Regions from separate parts of the Homo sapiens genome. Here region 2 is linked to region 1. Evidence: promoter capture Hi-C in human tissues and cell types (Jung and others, 2019). All regions are on one chromosome and are shown on one strand. The core of a region is centred on a gene start or on the middle of the fragment in contact, and the rest is flanking DNA. Distances in the headings are between cores, read along the strand shown.

Region 1 (6,788 bases), core at 2,475-4,974:
GGTTTACATGATATCACCTATCCCCTCAATTTAACAGCATGTACTATGCAGTTGGGCATTTAAGCAGAAATTAAGAGTTGGCAGGTATTGCTCAACTGGTACCCATTTTAGGAATAATGCTGAATCATAGCATTTTATCTGGTCTTCTCTCAGGATACTTAATGCTAATTTTTTGTATTTTTAGTAGAGACGGGATTTCACCTTGTTAGCCAGGATGGTCTCGATCTCCTGACCTCATGACCCATCTGCCTCGGCCCCCCAAAGTGCTGGGATTATAGGCGTGATCCACCGTGCCCGGACTTTTTTTTTTTTTTTTTTTTTGAGACAGAGTCTCCCTCTGTTGTGCAGGCTGGAGTGCAGTGGCCCAATCTCTTGCTCCCAGGTGCAAGCGATTCTCCTGCCTCAGCTTCCCAAGTAGCTGGGATTACAGGTGCCCACCACCACACTCGGCTAATTTTTGTGTTATTAGTAGAGACAAGTTTTCACTATGTTGCCCAGGCTGCTCTCAAACTCCTGACCTCAGGTGATCCACCTACCTCGGCCTCCCAAGTGCTGGGAAGTTGTTTTTTTTTTCTTTTCTTTTTTTGAGACTGAGTCTTGCTCCGTCACCCAGGCTGGAGTGCAGTGGCGTGATCTCGGCTCACTGCAAGCTCTGCCTCTCAGGTTCAAACGATTCTCCTGCCTCAACCTCTCGAGTAGCTTGGACTATAGGTCCCCGCCACCACGACCAGCTAATTTTTTGTATTTTTAGTAGACAGGATTTCACCGTGTTAGCCAGGATGGTCTTGATCAGCTGACCTCGTGATCCGCCCGCCTCGGCCTCCCAAAGTGCTGGATTACAGGCGTGAGCCACCGAACCCAGCCGACACTTAATACTTTCTTATGGCCCTTGTTATCCTGCAAGTTCTTCAAGGGCAAACTCTGTGTCTTAAGTAGTCACCTTTGTAACCCTTGCAATGCTGAGCATGAGACTGAACACTGGAGGAGAGGAGGGGAATAAAACATCTCCAGGGAAGAGGAATGTAATGGGAGCCTCTTCAAGTCCCACTGGCAGCTTATCTTTTGAGTGAGCTTTTTCCTATTTTCAAACATTTCTAGTAAAATAGGCATACCAAAGGGTATATCCAGGCAATACAAGCCATTGTAGTTAAATTCCACCATACACCTTTTCTGGCGCCTCACGATCAGCCTGGCTCTATTAATAATAGTCGTTACAGGAAGCTGCATGCCAGGTAGAAAGAGCCATTAGCTGTTACCACTCCACTGCCAAGAAGTAAAGACATTGTTTCCATTTCTTCTACTTAAGTCTTTTAAAACCTATAGAACATTATGTCCAGTATCTCTATCTCACACTCACTTTCATTTTCTATAGCTGTTGAAATTTTTGTTTTAATATTAGGAATATTCCATTCCTGGGTCTATAATGAATAGCAAACATTTTATACAGTACTATGGTTGGAATGGTAAACAAAAATAAGTCAGAAAATATTAATTTTTGGCCATATGGTAATTTTAACTTGTCCTCTTGGTGTGGTGTGGACGCACCCAGGTTGGACTTCATACATAGCCTCTTGCATTATATTGACTCATTGTCAGAGCTCACGAAGTCACTACCTAAGTGTCTGATTGCTACACTATACATTACTTCAAGATACTATGAAGGTTAATCAGATTACAAAGGGGAAATCATAAAGCTGAGTAAGCTTCTTGGTAATAAAACTATATAAATACAAAATACTGTTTTTTATTGGCAGATAATATATCGTGTTTTAGCACAACACATAAGCTGCTAGGCATTTATTCAATCTGATTGGGAATGGGTTAAATTTGGTTAAAAAATTTTACCTTAGGTTGCTTTAATTAAAAAAATGTTTAAGGCTGAGTGCAGTGGCTCACACCTGTAATCCTAGCACTTTGGGGGCACTGGGTGCAGTGGCTCACACCTGTAATCCTAGCACTTTGGCCTAGCACCGCTTGAGGCCAGGAGTTCAAGACCAGCCTGGCCAACATGATGAAACCCCATCTCTACTAAAAATACAAAAATTAGCCAGGCGTGGTGGTGGGCGCCTGCAGTCCCAGCTACTCAGGAGGCTGAGGCAGAATTGGTCAAACATGGGAAGCGGAGGTTGCAGTGAGCTGAGACAGCACTCCAGCCTGGGCAACAGAGGGAGACCCTGTCTCAAAAAATAGTAATAAATAAATTTAAAAAGTTCGGCCAGGCGCGGTGGCTCATGCCTGTAATCCCAGTGCTTTGGGAGGACGATCACCACTTTGGGTGGGCGGATCACCTGAGGTCGGGAGTTTGAGACCAGCCTGACCAACATGGAGAAACCCCGCCTATACTAAAAATACAAAATTAGCCGGGCGTGGTGGCGCATGCCTATAATCCCAGCTACTGGGGAGGCTGAGGCAGGAGAATCACTTGAATCCAGGAGGCGGAGGTTGCAGTGAGCTGAGATCGTGCCATTGCACTCCAGCCTGGGCAACGGAGTGAGACTCCGTTCTCAAAAAAAAAAAAAAGTTTAAAATATCATTGGTCTTTAAAGTTATACATTCATTCTTTGATAATTGCTATGTTGAACGCAACCTCCTAACTGCTTTACAATGATTAAGCACTAATGATTTGAACCCAGGTTTAAAGTCTGACTCTCAACACATGTGCTCTGCCTTCTCACGAACATGATTTCAAAAATCATAGCCCCGGGATTTGGGATTGGTGGCTTATGCCTGTAAACCCAGCGACAGAGCAAGACCCTACTCTTAAAAAAAAAAAAAATTAAAGAAAAAAAGAAAAATAAATCATAGTGTTGAACTGGCAGGTTTCACTGAGACGAAACTTGGGACTCTTCCTTTTTTTTTGTTTCGAATAAAGCCATTCTAGAATGAGACAAAATTCTAAAATATTTTATAGTTAACAGTTTAAATTGGGTTTAATCTTGACAAGACTATCTAGGGCTATATACACAAATCTCTTTTGGAGAAAATACCACAACTAAACTGAAGTCTATTCCTGAATATGACAGACCAGGTCAAATGGTTATCCTTGCCCTCCCGGGGGATGTCACTCATAAACGTGCCAAAAGTCACAGTCTAGGCCCCATTACCTTACATGCTCATGACCTTCCCAGGGAGGCCCCTCGCCCTTACCAGGCACTTTCATCTTGGGAAGACACATCAGTCCTGGCGGAGAAAGCAGCAAGGCCTTTCCCCGGCTCACAAAAATTAATACAAATCTCAGAGGCTGCATCCCACAGCCGTGACCACCGTGACTTGGCATCCCCTTTTCTGCAAACTTAAATGTTATCTAGAAATCGGGCCTGGCTCTGAAAGCCAAGGGCCTGGCAGGAGCCCGAGAAAGGGGAGAAACTTTCTGCGGCCCCAAGCTAATGGCAGTCACTGCACCGAGACCCGTCCCCTGGCATCCCTTTGCTCCAGCTGGCCAAGACAGACCACCAAGGTCAGCCAGATTTCCACCCAGTCTGGCCGGGCCCGGACCCAGCTGGGAATGAACCGAGAAGCACCGGGACCCGGATCCCGGCGTGAAAGGCCGCGCGCGGGGCACGGCGGGAAAAGACGCTGCGCGCAGAAACACCCGCCCCGCGCCGCGCTCTAGTGGGCGGCCCTGCCGCGGGCGGCTCTGATTGGACTGCCGAACCCCGCGCGCTGATTGGCCGCGTGGGCGAGGCGGAGGAGAGCCGTGCGCAGCGGCGTATGTGGGGCCGTGTGCAGACCCGCGTGTGGCGCAGGCAAGGACCCTCAAAATAAACAGCCTCTACCTTGCGAGCCGTCTTCCCCAGGCCTGCGTCCGAGTCTCCGCCGCTGCGGGCCCGCTCCGACGCGGAAGGTGAGGGCTGGGGGAGGGGCCCGGCGCTGACGGAGCCGCAGTGCGGGTCGGGTCTGTGGCGGACAGAGAGGGTAGGGAGCGGCGAGGTGGCGATGGCGGCCGCACTTTGGCCTGCGCCTCTGCTGCGTCAGGCGGGAAGCTCGGCTGCTGCCGCCGCCTCGGACCCGGGTTTCTGGCGCACCGCTGTCGGACGACACTTCTGTCCTTTCTTCGTCCTGGAAAGCTGGGTCGCCGAGCATGCGGGTCTTTCGGCGCCACGGCCGCACCCCAGGCCGCAGGCTTAGGGCAGAGGAGGCCCGCCCGTGCGCCCTTGGGGCCGAGGCCCTGACGCTTCGAGGGTCGCGGAATGAGGGACCGAGGGTGGATTTGGCGGGAACTCACTGGAAGGAGTCCGTGTGGTGGGGAAAGGCTCCCGGCTGCGGATGAAGGGGGGATGGGGTGGGTATAGTCGTGCAGGCCATGTGCTGGGGTCGTGCGCCTGGCGGGCCATGTGCCAAGGGTTTTGGGGGCCTTAGAAAAGGGTTCTTAGGCCGGGCGCGGTGGCTCACGCCTGTAATCCCAGCACTTTGAGAGTCCCAGGCGGGCGGATCACGAGGTCAGGAGTTCGAGACCAGCCTGACCAATATGGTGAAAGTTGGTCTGTACTAAAAATAAAAAATTAGCCGGGCATGGTGGCGGGCGCATGTAGTCCCAGCAGCTCGGGAGGCTGGACAGGAGAATCGCGTGAACCCCGGAGGCCGAGGTTGTGGTGAGCCGAGATCGCGCCACTACACTCCAGCATGGGCAACAGAGAGAGACTCCGTCTTAAAAAAACAAACAAACAAACAAACAAACAACAACAAAGGGTTCCTGAAGAAGCCTTTGTGTTTGGAGTGGCGAGACTGCTGGAAGACTTGGGAGCTTTTAGAGTTTATACTCCCTATCCTTGATAGTTTTCCGATTCTTGAATTTTTATCGTCATTTAAATACTAAGTTGCTTGTGTTACATTACCATTCCAAAAGGGGCTGATGGGGCTCACATTCCAAGAGTTAACACTATTTAAGTTGCTGGGATCCTTTAAAAGCGCCATTACCAGAAAAAACACGAATTTGTCAAACCTCCAAAACCACAGCAGCGGGCGGTAGTCTGCATCATTTCTTGGATTAATGAAACAGATGTAATTACAAACGAGACACGAAATTCAACTAGCTCCCCTCCATCTAGATTTTTCCATATCGTGAGAACCTGTTTTAGAATGGCATAATGGTCCACATTTGGGTTTAGGTGTTGATTTTATTATGGGTAAGGCTTGTGCTTGTTCCCACATGTTAACCATATGGCCTCAGCCACAGGGCACTTCCAAAGGAAGTGACTGTTTCTGGTCTTGGGGGTCTTGTAAAAAGAGAACATTGCTCAGTAATCGTCTGTGATTTTAGCTAGTGTGTTTCAGGCATTATTCAGAAGGACTCAGGTGAGATAAGCCAAAACTGAATTTGTTTTTTGTCTTTCTCAAAGTGAAGGAGGTCTAATGAATATCCCCATCTTGCTTTTAAATTACATTTTTAAAAGTAGATTTTTCCCCCTTTCCTATTGTTTGACCCAATTTTGGAGTGAAACGTAACCAGTTACTATTTCCATTCGAATTTAAATTAGCAATTTTATGTTATTTGTTTGTTCAAGCAGTATAACTGGAGTGTAGAGCTTTGAGGGTTTCAAAAAGATAAGAGATATAGTACTTATCTCCTGGGCTTCCCCCTCCCCCCTCCTAAATAGTTTTAAATGCTTCTAATGAGTTACTCTGGTTAAGGATAATCAAACACCTGTAAACTGCCAGGATCCTAGGTACATGCTGTTTTTAGTTTGTTGAGCCTGATTCTTGTCTACAAGAGTTCTTTGTGTATTGGAATATAAAAGGAATAATTTATTACATTCCCAAGGGCAGAATTAAAGACTTAAGTTTTTCCGATTTCATCTCTTGATAAGTTTTTCTTTAAAAAAATAACAGTTTGTGTTTTTCTGAGGAACCAAAGGTCCTCTTTTTTTTCATATTGGTAACAGGAGAGGTAATGTATTTCAGATGGTGCAGTCTGTAAAATATTTTGAACCAAATCAGTGGAAGACCAGGGGTTTTTCTTTTTTTTTTTCTGAGACGGAGTCTCACTCTGTCGCCCAAGCTGGAGTGCAGTGGCGCGATCTCGGCTCACTGCGACCTCCGCCTCCCGGATTAAGCGATTCTCCTGCCTCAGCCTCCGAAGTAGCTGGGATTACAGGCGCCCGCCGCCACACCCAGCTAGTTTTTGTATTTTAGTACAGACGGGGTTTCACCATGTTGGCCAGGCTGGTCTCGAACTCCTGACCTTGTGATCCGACTCCCTCGGCCTCTCAAAGTGCTAGGATTACAGGCAGGAGCCACCGCGCCTGGCCAGGTTTTTCTTAAACTGGCATTTGAACATCTGGAACAGGCAGGGAGATGTCTTTTTTAAAGTATAAATGTGTTTTGTTACATGATTTATGACAATTCTACTTGTCTTTTTTTTTTTTTTTTTTTTTTTTTTTGAGACAGAGTCTTTCTCTGTCGGCCAGGCTGGAATGCAGTGGCACAGTCTCGGCTCACAGCAGCCTCCATCTCCCGGGCTCAAGCAATTCTCCTGCCTCAGCCTCCCAAGTAGCTGGGATTACAGGCGTGTGCCACCACGCCCGGCTAATTTTTGTATTTTTTGTAGAGACGGGGTTTCACCATGTTGGCCAGGCTGGTCTTGATCTCCTGACCTCAGGTAATTCACCCGCCTCGGCCTCCCAAAGTGCTGGGATTACAGGCCTGAGCCACCGTGCCTTGCCAACAATTCTACTTGTCTTTTAAAGTTCAATAAAAATATGTGGCACGTATATGGGATAGTACCAAACTGGTGCCTAAAAGCAGTGAAACCACCATTGGACTAATTGGAATGATTTGTCTATTGGCTG
Region 2 (2,767 bases), core at 268-2,767, 250 kb before region 1:
AAAATCGGCTGACTGCTGTCGTGATGCCATGGCAAAGGAGAGTATTACTATTAACAGCTGCCATCGTCTCTCCCTGGTGCAGCAGCTGGGACTCTCCTCCTCAGCAGTGCTTTCCCTTCTTCCCATCCTCTTTCCAGCCAGTAATCTTAAAACTTGAAGGAAAATTAAAAGCCTTCACTTGTGAAAAATTTAGGGAAGGCTTCTTATATACATAAATGAGTGGAGAATAGTTGGTGTCTTCACACCCCTCCTGATACTTACTACTAAGTGTGACTTCCAATTTAATTTTGTATATATCATAGTCATTTTTATCTTCTATTTTAATGTAATGCTTCTCTAAAATGCTTTAGAGCTCTAAATAATTCAAAAGTATAATCACATAGTTCATCTATTATTTGTAATATGCTCTTAATACAGAATTCAGAACTTAGCAGTTTTGTCTTTATAATACCTCAGTGAATAAGAGATAAAAGGGAGACCTTTTGAGCAGCCCTGTATTAGTTATTCATTATGCCATTATGGTATAATGAATAACTCCTTTAAAGAATAATAATTTTACTTAAACTCCTGTGGGGAAACAGCCTGGAGAAATTTGTGAAGCAGGAGATTAGGTTTGATTCTTGTTCCCAGTTCTACCCATGATTTTATGTCTTTTCTGTGCCTGGAGTTTCTCTGCCTTTAACACAAGATGGCCATATATACCTAGGAACTGCATAAGAATTCTTCAAGTCTGTGTCCTAGACACTGAGCTTCTTGAAGAAAGCTTTGAGGTTTATGTAGATTTATTGCTAGCAAAATGGGCAAATATTAAAAACTTTTTTTTGTGGTAAGAGTCTAGTTCTCAACATGAGATGAAGTACTCTTAGTACGAGGTGTCCATGAAATAGTGAAGACACCCATTGGCTTAGCTAGAAATTGCCAAGTAAACCTGGCATAAAGGAGACTAGTAATTATTCATAGGAGCCCACAGAAAAAGTTGTCAAATCAGAGCAGTCAGAGCAGTTTCCTTTGTTCTTTTTTTTTTTTACTCTCTACTGGGCTTTACCTACTCAAACTAAAATAGCGAAAAAACAGTAGTCTAATTATCTGGAGACCTGGATACTTGTTCCAGTTTATAGTCAATCCCAGTATCATTTTGGGATGATTGCTTCATTTAGAAGCTTCACTTTCTTCATCTGTAAAATAGAGGTAACCATCCTGACTAGTCCTGTTTTTCACATCAAAAATATTGTAAAATGAGAAGTGAAAAAGATGCTATACAAATGCAAGGTATTATTAACTGATATTCAAATTGCGAGGGTATGGTTAAGGAGTATTACATGTGATTTTAGAAATTTGAGAAGTCTGATAACACTGGTTCCCAATAGATAGAGGTTCTCAATAGGTAGTTGTCTCAGGTGTTCTAGGGTTCAAATTGTAGGTTTTTCTGCAGATTCTGTTTTGTCTGTATCCCTTTTTTTGGTAAGCGTAAAAGTAAGTGTTCACTGCAGAAATTTTGGAAAATACAGAAAAGTAAAGAAGGAAAGAAAAATTAGCACTTGGCAACAACCATTATATCATTTTGGCTTATTTCATTCTTAACTTCTGTATTGTTATTTATATATGTTTCCCCTTTTTTATAAAATTGGGATCATATGTAGACTCTTGCTTTTTCATTTAGAAGTTAATAGGAAAATATTCACAATAGTCTAAAAAATACTTTAATGACCACATTATACAAATGCATCGTAATTTAAAATATTCCATACTGCCTTTAATTTTTCAATACTATAAACTCTGAACATAAGTCATAAAGAACTAGTGTCACAGAGTGGTTAAAGGTGAGGACTCAGGAGCCAGACTGTCTGGATTTGAATTTTAGCTGGGACACTTAGTATCTGTGTGATCTTGAGCAAGTTACTTAGCTTCTCTGTGCCTCAATGTCCTTATCTGTAAAGTGGAGATAAAAATAGTACCAAGTTCATGGGTCATTAGTTAGATTAATTGGGTATTTATGTAAAGGGCTTAGAATAGTGCCTGGCATGCTTTGTAATAGTGTTGATATTATTATTTGCATCCCTCAATATTGCTTTAAGCTAAACCATAGACTCCATAAAGTGTTTACTTTTCCTTTTCAGAAGATACCATCCCACGAACACAGATAGAAAGAAGGAAAACAAGCCTGTATTTTTCCAGCAAATATAACAAAGAAGGTATCCCTTTCCCAATCAGAACAGCAAATTCTAATTCCATTTTGGGTTTTCAATTCTGATGCACTATGTTTGTTTAGCTCTTAGCCCCCCACGACGTAAAGCCTTTAAGAAATGGACACCTCCTCGGTCACCTTTTAATCTCGTTCAAGAAACACTTTTTCATGATCCATGGAAGCTTCTCATCGCTACTATATTTCTCAATCGGACCTCAGGTTTGGGGATTATTATCATCTTTGTCTTAGTAGAGACAGTGTGGTAGGGAGAAAGCACTGAATTGAGGCCTGGGTTCAAAGTCCATTTTGAGTGTGTCACCTGGGATAGGGCATTCCCCCTTCACCCTTAAACTCTTCACCTATGAGGAAATGAGACTGGATGACATCCAACAGACCTTTTAGAATAAAGAGGTAGATTTTATTTATTTTATACTTCCAAATTCTTTTTGATCATCAGTGAAAATCAGTTAACGTTTCTCCACCCTCTTTCATGTGTGTTTAAAAGTATCTTTTTCACTGAATGTACCTTGTGTTCTATATGCTTCTACTCTCATTATCTGCTGATCTGATCATTTAAAAGCT

What was found. The method cuts DNA at HindIII sites, captures the fragments that hold promoters and counts their contacts. A contact is called where the count stands out against the background at its distance.
Region 2: a contact is called between a fragment that was not itself captured here and the fragment with the promoter of CNBP in region 1, in 1 of the 25 tissues and cell types used here (aorta).

What each region holds. Positions count from the first base shown.
Region 1 is chr3:129,180,832-129,187,619 of GRCh38, reverse strand. CNBP (CCHC-type zinc finger nucleic acid binding protein) reads left to right here and starts at 3,724. Exons shown (of 5, transcript NM_003418.5): 1 at 3,724-3,844. It overlaps LOC105374101 (a long non-coding RNA gene), which reads right to left and starts at 3,546. Exons shown (of 2, transcript XR_924469.3): 1 at 3,148-3,546. RefSeq lists an enhancer at 3,301-3,390. The HindIII fragment of the contact is 21,375 bases long and covers 1-6,788 here.
Region 2 is chr3:129,433,487-129,436,253 of GRCh38, reverse strand. MBD4 (methyl-CpG binding domain 4, DNA glycosylase) reads left to right here. Exons shown (of 8, transcript NM_001276270.2): 4 at 2,118-2,192; 5 at 2,270-2,404. Among named protein-coding and RNA genes, the nearest start is that of MBD4, 5.1 kb to the left of the region's middle. The HindIII fragment of the contact is 4,141 bases long and covers 1-2,767 here.